3 separate regions of the Homo sapiens genome follow, and all the other regions are linked to region 2. Evidence: promoter capture Hi-C in human tissues and cell types (Jung and others, 2019). All regions are on one chromosome and are shown on one strand. The core of a region is centred on a gene start or on the middle of the fragment in contact, and the rest is flanking DNA. Distances in the headings are between cores, read along the strand shown.

What was found. Contacts are between HindIII fragments. The study calls those that stand out against the background at their distance.
Region 1: a contact is called between a fragment that was not itself captured here and the fragment with the promoter of DHX15 in region 2, in 1 of the 25 tissues and cell types used here (lymphoblastoid cells).
Region 3: a fragment that was not itself captured here is called in contact with the fragment with the promoter of DHX15 in region 2 in 1 of the 25 tissues and cell types used here (dorsolateral prefrontal cortex).

What each region holds. Positions count from the first base shown.
Region 1 is chr4:24,891,438-24,896,132 of GRCh38, forward strand. All of the region lies in intron 1 of CCDC149 (coiled-coil domain containing 149), which reads right to left. Among named protein-coding and RNA genes, the nearest start is that of CCDC149, 19 kb to the right of the region's middle. The HindIII fragment of the contact is 5,835 bases long and covers 1-4,695 here.
Region 2 is chr4:24,582,802-24,587,553 of GRCh38, forward strand. It overlaps DHX15 (DEAH-box helicase 15), which reads right to left and starts at 1,753. Exons shown (of 14, transcript NM_001358.3): 1 at 1,522-1,753. The coding sequence starts at 1,592. RefSeq lists silencers at 1,012-1,061, 1,262-1,341, 1,352-1,471 and an enhancer at 1,652-2,191. The HindIII fragment of the contact is 10,024 bases long and covers 1-4,752 here.
Region 3 is chr4:24,843,723-24,848,395 of GRCh38, forward strand. The region is part of intron 4 of CCDC149 (coiled-coil domain containing 149); the gene reads right to left. Among named protein-coding and RNA genes, the nearest start is that of SOD3, 50 kb to the left of the region's middle. The HindIII fragment of the contact is 4,984 bases long and covers 915-4,673 here.

The DNA.
Region 1 (4,695 bases), core at 761-3,260, 310 kb after region 2:
CTGGCTGCAGATCACCAGTGGACTGCAAGCCAATGATGGGCATGATTTGACTTGCTCTCCTTAACAGAACATTTGACCACCACCATCATCACCTCTGTCATCACTATTTATCAGGAGAACATTTAAATGACGATAAAATGGGTTGTTCGGTTTACTCTTTTGCGTGTGCATCTACAAGATCTAATACTAAATTAAAAACTCCTTTGGAGAAGTGCACATAGACATCACTAATTCAGGTAAGCTCGAGGTTTGGGCATCTCGCTTTCAACAAAGAAAATTTGCCAGGCACAGTGGCTCATGCCTGTAATCCCAGCACTTTAGGAGGCCAAGGCAGGAGGATTGCTTGAGCCCAGGAGTTTGAGACAGGCTTTGGCAGCATAGTGAAACTCCTTCTCTACAATTTTTTTTTAAATTAGCTGGGTGTGGTGGCGTACATCTGTAGTCCCAGCTACTTGGGAGGCTGAGGTGGGAGGATCCCTTGAGCCCAGGAAGTTGAGGCTGCAATGAGCCATGATCATGCCACTGCATTCCAGCCTGGGGGAGAGAGTGAGACCCTGTCTCAAAAAAGAAAAAAAGGTCAAAAGAAAATTCAGTAGTCATCAGGATCATCATAAATAGTAGCGTCAAAATGGATTGTTAAATATATGTCCAGGCTGACCATTCCAAAAGGAGATGAAATTCAGAGGCAGAGAGACTTAAAAAGATAGAAGGCAGTGGATACTCCCAAGTAAGACCCGGGGTGTGAGTCAGAGTCCCCTCTGGATTCCAACTCCTGCCCTACCACTTCTAGCTGAAGGATCTTGGGCAAGGAAATCCATTGCTTGCTGAGCCTAAGATCTTTTATCTGTAAAATAAGGACTATGATAGTACCTACTTCATGGTACTATAGGTTTGTCAAAGGATTAAATGAGATAATGAAAAGAAGGCTTTTAGCCCAGTAACTGGCATGCAGCTGCCATTTACTTACAGCTTATATTCATCATCATCATCCACAATCATCATCTTCCTGGATAACATCAGCACTGGTTGCTGTCCACTTAAGTGGAAGGGTACAAAGACTATAGTAGTTAAAATAAGTCCTTGGGAAAGACCTACGAAGCCTGATGGGCTCAGATTTCAGGTATGACCATAGAAGCGTCAGCCAAAACACTGATGGCAGGCACTGTTCTGGGCAGTTTTTCACATTAGCTCATTTGATCCTCACAAGGAGGCCCTCTGAGGTAGGTACTATGAGGATCCCCTATATAAAATACTGTCCAGTGAGATGGAAGCAACAGTGTCTGAAACATTTCCTTTCCAATGTTTCAGACTTCTGAAACATTTCCTTTAAGGGAGGGGCACTGTCTTTGTCCATTTTTTGTTGCTATTACAGAATACCAGAGACAGGGCAATTTATTAAGAAAATAAATTTATTTCTCACAGTTCTGTAGGCTAGGAAGTCCAGAAGCATGACACCAGCATCTGCCAATGACTTTCTTGCTACATCATGACACAAATGAGGGAAGGCATCCCATAGTGAGTAAGCACTCCAGACAGAGAGAAAAGGGGGCTGATCGCCCTCATTAACAAACCTACTACCATGATAATGACATTAAATCCTTTCATGAGGGCAGAGCCTTCCTGACCTAATGACCTCTTGAATGTGCCATTTAGTAACACTGTCACGATGGCAATTAAGTTTCCATGTAAGTTGTGAAGGGGACATTCAAACCATAGCAGGTTCACTCTTGCCTATGTCTTCCTCCTTCTTGCCACATAGTGGTCTGCAAAGTGGAAAGCCTCACACATGGAATGATGAACCAGAAAAATGAAAGGTGGCTAGGTCTCTAACAGATTGTAAGCCAGCATGCCAGCCCTAAAATGCCTACCTCCAAATGTATTGCACTTCAGAAAAATATAAAGTTCAATATTATTTAAGCAATTATTAATTCTGGTATTTCATTAAAATTAATCCTAAATAAAATACCAACATACCCAAATATGTGGTATGAGGAAATTGGACACCCAATATTGTAAGACTTGTAATCCACTTCACAATCAGAACTCTGTGTCACCACTGACAGATGACATTGGCTATCTGAGACACAAAAGTAAGTAAGCAGTACATCAGGGCATTATGTAGTTAGGGTTTTAAGTAAGAGAATGTTTCCCTTCTAGCACAATCTAAAATACAGACTTTTTTTTTTTTTTTTTTTTTGAGATGAAGTCTCACTCTGTCAATCAGGCTGGAGTGGAACGGGGCAATCTCAACTCACTGCAACCTCTGCCTCCTGGGTTCAAGCAATTCTCCTGCCTCAGCCTCCCTTAGTAGCTGGGATTATAGGCACCCACCACCATGCCCAGCTAATTTTTGTATTTTTAGTAGAGACAATTGGCCAGGCTGGTCTCAAACTCCTGACCTCAGGTGATCCGCCCGCCTCGGCCTCCCAAAGTGCTGAGATTACAGGTATGAGCCACCACGCCCAGGCTAAAATCCAGACTTCTTAAAAATTAGTGCTTCAGTGTACCAGGTTGGTTGGTCCACTCATTCACTCATTCATTCCTTCATTCACTCATTTTGTGAGGCTGTGTTAGAATAGGAACAACACAGACTTCAGAATCAGAGAAACCTGGAGTTCAAATCCCAGCTCTGGCTTTCCTTGCATATTCCCTGATGTCTACTTATCTTTTAGCTGTACTGAAAGTCATATGTCAAGCATCCAGCACAGGACTCAAAGCATTAAAAAGTGCTCAATGAATGTTTCCTTTTTCCTTCATATAGGTTCCTGAATTGAAAATTACATTAAAAAATCTTCATGTGGTGGCTGGCACACTGCAAATGGAAACTTAATATAATTTTATTGCCATTAGTAATAATAATAAGAGTAGTGGTAGCAATCAGCATAGTGGTTGTAGTGATAGTGGTAGTAAAATAATCAAAACCTAAACTGAGAGAGGGTGAAGAGAGGCAGGTTTCCAAGTGTGCACTGTTAATGCCTACATAATCAAGACTCAGCTGTTCAGCACTGAGTGGGAGGGTATTTCTGGGAGACGGGTGGAGCTTTTCTCCTCCTTGTTGGTGTCTTCACAAATTCCAGCAATCAAAATAGTCATTTTCCTTCCTTGCCAATGTCATCTTAAAAGAACCTCTCTCTAAACCCAGGTGCTTAAATTGTCCAGTGAGTTTCTCTCCTCTTTAAGAAGAAGTTGAGGAATGGGACAAACAAGCACCTTAGTATTTGTTCTCCTGTAAACACCAGAGCAAAAGTATGTTCGAAAGGGCATCTCACAACGTGTGTTAGGATGTGAGATGCCCTTTCGAACATACACAGCAATGGTTATTAGGATGTTTAGCATAACACATGTATATTCAAAAAAACTAAGCAAGTCACAGAAGGCACAAGCAGGCCTTGAAGAAAAAAAATCTCAAAGTCGCTGACACCCCTGCAGCCTGTGCTAGAACCAAACAGAACCCCTCATGCCAGCCATTTAGGCTTTCTGATAGTGGGGAAAAATACAGCAGGTATTTATAAAACATAGGCTTAAAGTCCCATGCAGGCATGGTTTGTCAATACCTCAGAATCCCAAGTGGCCGCTCTGGCGATGATGATGATGATGACGACGACGATGACGACCATGATGGTGATGATGATGAGTTAATGACGTGGCAACTATCCACTACTTATGAATAAGTAGTGCTGACTAGGAATAAGAACACGTTATAAAAACAGCATATGATACTGGAAGTCAGAATAATGGTTACCTCTGGGTGAGGCAGGAGGGATATCTTGGCTCAGAAGGGCATAGGAAGCCTTCTGGGGAGCTGGGGATGCTCTAGAACTTGCTCTGGGTGGTGGTTACACAGGTATGTGCACATGTAAAAATGCACTGAGCTGTACACTTAAAATGTGTGCCTCTGCTGTCTACGTGTTAGCCTCGATACAAATAGTAAAACAGCATACACTATAAATTCATTTTTAGAAATTAGGGCATGGAAACATGGAAGATTACAGCAGTCAGCTCTGGGTAGTCAAATTGTAGGTGGCTTTTTTTCTTTTATATGTATCTGTATTTTCTAAATTTGGAGGGTGCAGTGAATTTACATTGCTCGGTGTTTAAAGTTAAAATCCACTGTTACCCAAGGCATTTCTCATCTCTAGATAACACCTTCAGTCATTCACTTTCTTCTCAAACCTTTCCTCATTCACAGGCTCAGGCAGTCTGGGGCATGTCCCTCATGGCTGCCTGAGGAAATTCTTTACAATGGGCATGGGGTGGGGTGGTGAGTCTGAGGTGTTACTAGATTATCTCACTTTCTTGGAGCCTCTGCTCAGACAGGACTGGGTCACCTGGTGCACCTGTCTTCAGGCTCCCACAACAGAGGGGCTATGAGACCATCCCTTCAGGATGACCTGACCCCACTCTTGAGGACTCCTTAGCCCACTGTTGCTCAATTTCCAGCCTATACTGAAGTCTGGGCAGGAATCTAGAACCAGACCCCAAAAGTCTCCTTTTCAGCTCACATTCTTGGGTTTAGATCAGGTTAGCAGAAGCAGAGATGAGGAAAGCGGTCTTGCAGCATGCAAGGGCTGCCGCCTCTTGTCTGGAAGTGAGCATGCAGGGCGCCTGAATCCAGGGTTCCCAGCACAAACCTGGGGTCCAGAGGGAAAAACATCCAACAGGAAGTTAAAACCGAGCTCCTCTTGCTTGCTTCTT
Region 2 (4,752 bases), core at 503-3,002:
TGTGACATACAGCTCAGAGGTATTAACGTTTTGTGGGGCGTAATGGTGGGGGAGGGTGATAGCCTAAAGAGAGTCTGTCTTACAATGTCATTGTCTTTTTTACAATGCCTAATATCGTAAACTAAATAACTCACAAAATTAAAATGTGACATGCTTTTGCTTTCTATTGAATAATTCAACATATGGCAAAGCCTCAAAAAGTACACCCTATCCTGGCTTATACTCTACAATGACACTAAACATATCCCTGGAAATCAATTTCAATGAAGAACTTTAGCTGAAAAATTCAAAACAGCTATACAGGTGACTTGACACAGTGATTCTGTATCACAAGTACACAATAAAATGATACAATTATGCAAAGTATTTGGCTACTCGGGCTTTTGTGGGTTTTGCCTGAATTATCCAAACAGGTCTTTGTACTTCATCAATGAAAACACACAAGGGACAAGAAATGATTTTCACGAAATTGCTTAAATTAACTGCTAAATTCCTCTGTACCTTTAAGGAAAGGAATCTGGAACACCAAGAGTTTGTGTAAGTATTTCAACTCTCAACCTCCACATGGGCGGTGTTTCGCCATAAATACTAAAAACACGTTTTGAACATGATCCCTGTATTTCAAAAGCTACTTATGAAGAAAAGTGGGACATGCATAGAAAATAAATGATGAAAAAAAAAAACAATGCCTTCTAATCCCTCCCCATGGGACGATGTTCAGTAACCAGTTTTAACCAAAGCAGGAAATACAGGAGATGGCGGGAGCGTAGGCAGAGAGCGGAAGTTTGCTAGTATCTACTTTGAAGTGTTTGAATGGACCAAGGCACGCTCTCTCCCGCCAAACTATAAACTCAGTCGCCCCAAAACACCAGCCTTCCAGCCCATCAGGTATATTACTCCACGTTTTCCTTTCTCCCGGCAGGTCCTCTACTCCCACCTCCCCCGAGAACTCCCTATTTGCTGGCTTCTCTCAACTCCCGCCACCCCCATCCCAGCCTACATTATGATCCACGCGCTGCTCTCACTTTCCGCCCTCCGCCTTTCCCGTCTGGAGTGCCTGGCCGCGCCCCCACCCAGGCCCTCCCCACGGCCCCTCTGGCTGGGAAGTGCCTGCTGCCCTTGGAAGCGAATACTCCCACCGCGCCCTCCCCCACCCTCTCCTCCGGCTCCAGGCCTTCCTCGGGAACCGAGGCCACGAGGTCCGCGGTTCACTCCCGCCCGACGCCCTCGCAAATGACTCCCGCTCGGTTCGGCCTGGGGGAGGAGGCGCCCTCATGGCTACTGCAGGCCTCTCCACCCTCCGGACTGGGCTGGGCAGCGGCCCCGTCGCACGCAACCCCCCGCGCCCTTGCCGGGCCGAACGGGCGCCGCGCTTCTCCTACCCGCCGCTAGTGAACCCAGCCCAGAGAGAAACAAAGGCTCGGGCTCCAGGACCCGCTCGGCCAGGCCAGCCCCGGCCCGCTCCCTGCCAGGACCCCAACAAAGCCCGAGCTGCCGCCTCGCGCCCCCGGCCTGGCTTACCCATCGGTCCCCGCACGCTTCTTGCCAGAGGGGTAATCCTCCCCTAGGTCCAACCGGTGCCGCTTGGACATCCTCGCACTCTTCGAACGGGCAGTTATTAAGGAAGAAAGCTGGCTGCTGTATGGGCACAGTCGAGGACAGCCACTTAACTCTGGAGGACCCCCACCCCTCCCGCTACTACAGCCCACACGGTGCGGCCGGAACCAACAGCTAAAATGGCGGCGGCGACGAGGGCTGGGCCTGCGCGCGCGCGCGCTTCCGCAGCGTGCGTGCGTGCGAGTGTGCGTGTGAGCGAGGTGCGCGCGCACGACGCCCAAAGGCGGGAACTCCTGTCCCGCCCGCTGCCTCATTGGTCCGACCTTTCTTGGGTCTCCTCCCTCTTCCTGTAGCTTTCCCCTCCTCGGAGCGGCTGTTAGGAAGAACCTGAAGGCCTTCACTTTCCATTTCAGGCTATCCTTGCCCCTCTGAGTCAAGAAATTGAGAAAGTCTAGTCCTAGTTAGGAAATCCTATTCATTTCTATTACCCCGGCTTTAAGGGAATCTCAGACCCAGAGAGGTTGAGAAACGAATGAAGATCGTACAGCTAATAAGTGGCAGAGCCGGGATTGGAACCCAGCTATTTAGTAACTCCAGATCTGGAACTTGCGGCCACTGCGCTACCCTCAGTTGCAGTGAGGGGCCGCGCGATGGTTCACGCCTGTAATCCCAACGCTTTGGGAGACCGAGGCGGGTGGATCACGAGGTCAGGAGTTCGAGACCAGCCTGGCCAACACGGTGAAACCCCGTCTCTACTAAAAATACAAAAATTAGCTGGGCGTGGTGGCGTACGCCTGTAATCCCAGCTACTCGGTAGGCTGAGGCAGGAGAATCGCTTGAACCTGGGAGGCGGAGGTTGCGGTGAGACGAGATCACACCAGTGCACTCCAGCCTGGACGACAGAACAAGACTCCGACTTGAAAGAAAAAAAAAAATCAATTGCAGTGAGGAAACTGAAGTGAGAAAATGTTAAGGCTTGTCATGATCTATTTTGCCCTTTTCTTGCCCAGCACGGACACCATGCACCCAAGCTATAGATGTTTTTAACTAGAATACAGAGAATTCGCAGTGAGGGCACAATTTGCTTTTTTGTTTTTTGTTTTTCTGTGCCTATTAATGCACTTTCGCAGTGTTAAATAACACCCTGCAAGGTAGTTGTTATTTTGTAGACGTAGACGCAAAGGCTGAGGAAGGTTACATCTCCTAGCCATAAGGGCTGTACCTAAAGCCATAACAAGGAGGTGGGGCAAGATGACTCTAAGGATTTTTGTGGATCTCTCCCCCTAGAATATGTCTGCTTCCTCAGTTGCATTTGTTCCCAGAAGAAATGCACAAGAAAAGATCTGTGGACCATCTGCAGCAGGGTGATCTCTGTTGTTCATGGAATGGCTTGGTTTGGCTGCCCTGGAAGACCATACTCTGGTTCTTATCCAAATCTCAGGACTGCAATTGCTAGGATTAAATGCAACTTAAATATTGCAACTGATGAGGGGTTTGTGTGTTTGTTTTGAGACAGTCTTGCTCTGTCGCCCAGGCTGGAGGACAGTGGTGCAATCTCAGCTCACTGCAACCTCCGCCTCCCGGGTTTAAGCCATTCTCCTGCCTCAGCCTCCCTCCTAGCTGGGATTATAAGCGCCCGCCACCACGCCCGGCTACGCGCCCGGCTAATTTTGGTATTTTTAGTAGAGACGTAGAGACGAGGTGTCGCCATGCTGGCCAGGCTGGTCTTGAACTCCGGACCTCAAGTGATCTGCCCACCTCGGCCTCCCAAAGTGCTGGGATTACAGGCGTGAGCCACTGCACCCAGCCAGCAATTGGTAAGGAGGGTTTTTATTTTTTTGTACCAAATCCACATTGGAAAGTCAACACAAAGAAAAATGAGTATATTTTTCACTTGTGAAATATTCAGTACAACTTTCTATCCTAAATGTACCATAGTCCCTACTTTGTCCCTGGTTTTGCTTTCACAGTACAGTAAGATATTCTGAGAGAAAGACCACATTCACATAGCTTCTATTACAGTATAGATTCTCCTTGACTTATGATGGGGTGATGGCCATCGCAAAGCCATCGTAAACTGAAAATGTTGTAAGTTGAACATGCAGTTAATATACCGATAAACCCATCGTGAAGTCAAAAAATCTGGTCAAACAATTGTAAGTCAAGACTGTCTGTATGTTGTTATAAATGTTTTATTATTAGTTGTTAATATCTTACTGTGCCTAATTTATAAGTTACACTTTATCATAATTACATATGTATAGGAAAAAACTGAAATTAAAATGATGAGTTGGCCTTCTATTATCTGTGGGTTCCTTATCCCTGGATTCAATCAACTGCAAATCAAAAATATATTTTTCTTTAAAAATGGATGGTTGCATCTGTATTGAACATGTACAGACTTTTTCTTGCTCTTATTTCTTAAACAATACAGTATAACAGCTATTTCCATAGCAATTACATTGTATTAGGTATTATAAGTGATCTAGTGATGATTAAGTATACAGAAGAATGTGCATAGGTTATATGCAAATACTGTACTATTTTATATCAGACACTTGAACCTCCACGGACTTTAGTGTCGGCAGTTTCTCCTGGAACCAATCCCTAGTGGATACTGAGGGACAATTGTGTTGACTTTTTTCAGATCATGATGTATAATCACTGGATTCCATCTGATTTTTCTCTTTTTGCTTAATTTTACAAATGAGGGAAACTGAACCCCTAGGTCTTATTGAAGTTCACACAATCAGTTGGTATCAAAGTCAGAATAAAATACAGATTTCACTTGAAGTATTAAAATCTCAGTCTTCAGGTTTCCAGTTTGATGACTGCTATAAAGTGCTCTAAAATTTTGGAGAAATAATCAGGGAAAAAAGTTAGAATTCTACCTGCAGAAGTGCTCCACTCAGATGTCAGCCTCTCATAAATGATGAAAGAGGAACTGAAATCAAGGTGATGAGACTTTTCCCTTGGGCCTAGGTTACAGCTAAAGAAAACCATAACCTCATCAGTTGTGTTGTGACCTGAACAATTAAAGAAAGGCCCTGGGCAGGCGTGGTGGTTCACACCTGTAATTCCAGCACTTTGGGAGGCCGAGGCAGGTGGATCATGAGGTCAGGAGTTCGAGACCAGGCTGACCAACATGGTGAAACCCCGTCTCTACTAAAAATACAAAAATGAGCCAGGCATAGT
Region 3 (4,673 bases), core at 2,157-4,656, 260 kb after region 2:
AATGCAGTCCAAGCGAGCAGTGTGCTAGCAGCTTTCCTTAGACCACTGACAGATACCCCCAAGTGGCACTTCACAGCACTGAGATCCGCATAGAGCCTCTACTAGGGCTGAAGAGGCACAATATGACCTGCTCCTACCTGCCTCCTGACCCCATTTCTAACCATCCCCCTATGTCTGTGCTCCAGCCATGCCGGCTTCCCTCCCTTGTCCGAAACATGCCACTCTCATGTCTGTCCCTGGGCCTTTGCACTTCCTCTGCCTTTGGAAGAGCCCACTCACAGGTCTGTCCAGAACCCGCTTCTTTTGTCTCATTCAGGTCAGATCAAATCTCCCCTCTCTGAGAAGCCTTCTCTGCACATTATCACTAGAGGCATTCATCCCCAAGCCACTCTCAATCCACACTGCCCTGCCTCTCTGTCTTCATCATACTTACCAGAAATAATCGCGTTCATCTGCTTGTGTCTACCCCACTTCAGCTCCATCATGGCATGAACCTTGCTTGTCATATGCACTGAAACACCTTGTCCTCCACAACCGTGTCTGGCTAACCATAGCCCGTCCTCAAATGCTTCTTAGATCTATTAAATAGGAAGCCTTCATTCTGTGCTCCCCACAACTCTCAGAGGCAGACATTGTCATCTCCTCTTTACAGTAGCGAGAACCCCCTGAGAGGTTGGCACATGGCTCTGAGGCCAGTGTTAACTGGCCAAAAGCTTCAGGTTGAGGGCACTGTGGCCCACTGGGAACCATGTACAAATCAATGGGCCGGGCCAGGCATGGTGGCTGACACCTGTAATCCCAGCACTTTGGGAGGCTGAGACAGGTGGATCACTTGAGGTCAGGAGTTCGAGGACAGCCTGGTCAACATGGTGAAACTCCGTCTCAACTAAAAATACAAAAACTAACTGGGCATGGTGGTGCACACCTGTAGTCCCAGCTACGCAGGAGGCTGAGGCAGTTGAATTGCTTGAACCCGGGAGGCGGAGGTTGCAGTGAGCCGAGATCACATACTGCACTCCAGCCTGGATGACAGGGCGAGACTCCATCTCAAAATAAAATAAAATAAAATAAAATAAAAATAAAAATCAGTGGCCCACAGTGCCCTGGGCCCAAAGCTTTTGGCCAGGTAACACTTAGCACTAATGTGCCATGCCATGCACTATCCTAGGTGCTGATCCCCATTCACCCATTTAAGTCCACCAAGCACCCTTGGCAGGTATTGTTGCTATCCTTATTTGCACATGAGAAGCTGAGACATAGAGAAGTGGAGGAACTTGCCTATGTCACAAATCTTATAAATGGCAGTCAGGAATTGAGCCCGGCAGTTCAGGGCTCTGAAGTCTATGCTGCGTTGCCTCTCTTCACAACCGTGGCAACAATACCTGCACAGCAGCTCCCCTGGAGAATGTGCTCTATGTCAAGTGCTTTATAGAACTTTCTTTATTTAATCCTCACAAAAGGCAAACGGCATGCCTTCCCGCACCAAGCCCCTGACACCCTAAGCTCGCTCCCCTCACAGGGTCTTTGGACTTCACACCCCATGTCCCTATATCTGACCCTTCCCACCACACTTCCTTCAGGGCTCTGTGTCACGCACATGCGCAGAGGGCCTTCCCTGACCACCTGATACAAACAGCATCCCTGCCCCACCTGGGCTGCACTCTCTAGCCCCTTATCCTGCTTTAGTTTTTTACTTAGCACGTATCACCTCCTGACATATTATACCGCAGTTCATCAAATATAAGACTCCATCAACTTTAAGAGCCACCACTGTGCACCTCTAAAAAGAATAAAAAGTGCCAGTCGTAACTACACAATACCGACTGTACCAGAGATGTCCAAATGTGAAAAACTGTGCATCTTGGAATCTGTGAAATATGATTTATTTGCTTACTGTCCATCTGCCTCCACTAGAACGAAACTCCCATGGGAGCAGGGACTCATTGATATTGTTTGCTGTTAGCCCTAGACCAGTCTGTCCTCAACAAATACATGTTGAAATGAATTGACCGAACCAGCCTCCATGAGGCAAGTACTACTGCTATCCCCATTGTACAGATGAGAACAACTAAGGCACGAAGAAGTCAAGCAATTGTCCCAAGATTACACAGCTAAGAAGCCCCTGAATCACTGTCAGATAGTTCAGCACATGTTGCTCCCAGAGCCAAAATCTTTAGTGTCCCATCAAGCAGTTTTAAAGAAGCTCTGATTTATTTTCATTTTAGTGTGTAATTTGGATATGGTGTATGATAAAATAAGTCTTGGGCAGAGATATCTTTCAGAATCAGTTCTCCACTAGGAAGTGTAATTATGTCCACAGTCTATGGGATGAATATCTGAAAACCATGCTGTTTTGGTCACGTGGTCTACCCAGACTATGAGCTCATGTAAGCCATGACAGGCTCAAATGAGGTATCGGAAGACCAAGTGTATCCAATTCACTTATGAATAAAACATTAGACACTGCTGAACTAGACTGGCCGCTTGCTGGACTCGCTGAGCATTGCCTATAGTTCATAATCAAGATCCCAGGTAGAGCAAGACATGATAGGGCAGGGAGGTGGGGTGCGGTGAAGGGCCCTTCTCACTCATTGTAATTCCTCATAATTAATTTCTATAGTGCCCCAAGGCGAGAGCTTTTCATTAGAGTGCCATCTTTACTTCAGTTTCTTGCAGGCTAGGACATCTCTCTGCTCCTTTTGAAGCATAAAGTGAAACAGCTTCCAAAGAGCTCTCTGATCCCTCATCCTGGACCATGACAAACATCCACAGCTGAGCACTCCTTTTTAACGAAGTGTACCTTAATTAGTCACTTGCACACTCATTGGTCTGTCTTTATTGGCCTGTAGCTGTATCTTAATTGGTTTGCTCACCAAATTCATCCAAAAGTCCCACGTCAATAGAGGTATGTTCACAGAAGGTCTCTATCATTTCACGGCACCAATGACAGATAAAACAGAGGTACCTAAAGACCTTCAGCTGGTATAACATAAAGCTCATTATTAAGGGCAAAACCCTGTGTTTATGCAATATCACAACAGCTAAATTTAAATTTGCCAGCAGGGGCCCAGGAAGTGTAAATGTGTGACATTGGTAGGAGCATTTGCCTACCGCAAACTTCCTTGCTTTTGAATACATCGCACTGTATTATTGGTCCTCTGCATGAAAGTACCATAATCTTTAAAGTAAACAGACAAGAAGACCAACTGCCATCTGTCCCAGTGGGAACATGAATTGCCGCTTCTGGCATATCCTATTAGGTGCTTATTCCACAAGGAGCACACAAAATGCAAGAAAGTTCCCAGGAGCTTGGCACCAAAGCAATAATGCTTGATGCTGGCGAAGTCGAGGCTGGTGATCAGGAGGGCTGACTTTTGGGGATCCATCTGCCACATGCCAGGTGTCTCACCAGGATCATTGTCTCTACTTGGGGGGACACATCTAGTTCACTGGAAATAGCTGATCAATAGAGAGGAAGATCTTAAGATTTCTGGTGGAATTCTTGCACAAGTGGATTCTAAGTCAATATGGGCGCATGTTATGCTAAAGACAACAGCAACACTTACCCTCTGTTAAGTGCTTGCTAGGTGGTATGCACCATGCAACACCCTTTACAAACGATATTGCATGCAAGTCCATCCCTAAATCATTAAATCTCATTGTCCTGTTCTCTTTTCTTCTCAGACTAAGCACTGTCTGATGAAATTACTTACGTATTTTATTTTCTTATTATCTACTCCCCAACTAGAATATCAGTACCATGGGAGCTAGTACCCTGTCTTTCTTATCCTTTGATGTGTCCTCAGCTGCTTTGATGTGTCCTCAGATGCTAGAAAGTTAATTAGCATGTAGGAAGTCCCCAATTATGTGGGGACTAAATGATGTGGTGAATAAATGATTAAACAATTCGATGAGAGGCATTATTATTGCCACTTTACAGATGAGGAAACTGAGGCCTGGAGAGAAAACTGACTTGCCAAAGGCCACAGACAATAACTGGCAGAACGAGAACATAAACCTGGGTCTGACAATCTTAAAAGGTGGACCTCTTGGGCTGCACTACACTGCTCCACTTCACAGAGACAGGCTGGAGCTATCTTTTCCTAGAGTCCAAATATTTCCAAGTTCAGTGACTTCACTTTGGTAACCTGACATTTGTCATGGTACCAGTATTTATCACACAGACATTGGCAAAATGTTACAAGTCAGGCTTCTTTCAAATAGCTGGTTCAGGAGCACACCTCAGGGTATAGTAGTCCCCCTAATCCTTGGTATCAGTTACCTGAGGTCAACCGTGGTCTGGAAATATTAAATGGAAAATCCCAGAAATAAAAAATTCATAAGATTTATATCGTATGCCATTCTGAGTAGCATGATGAAATCTCGTGTCCCAGTCTGTCCCACCTGGCCCTGCTGGAGAGATACAAATCCTTCCTTTGTCCAGGGTCCATGCTGTCTACGCTACCCACCCCTTAGTCACTGAGTAGCCATTTCAGGTATCAGGTCAACTGTCACAGTATTGCAGTGCTTGTGTTTAAGGAACCCTTATTTTACTTAATAATGCCTCGGCCAGGCACGGTGCTAACATCTGTAATCCCAGCACTTTGGGATGCCGAGGTGGGTGGATCATGAGGTCAAGAGATCGAGACCATCCTGGCTAACATGGTAAATCT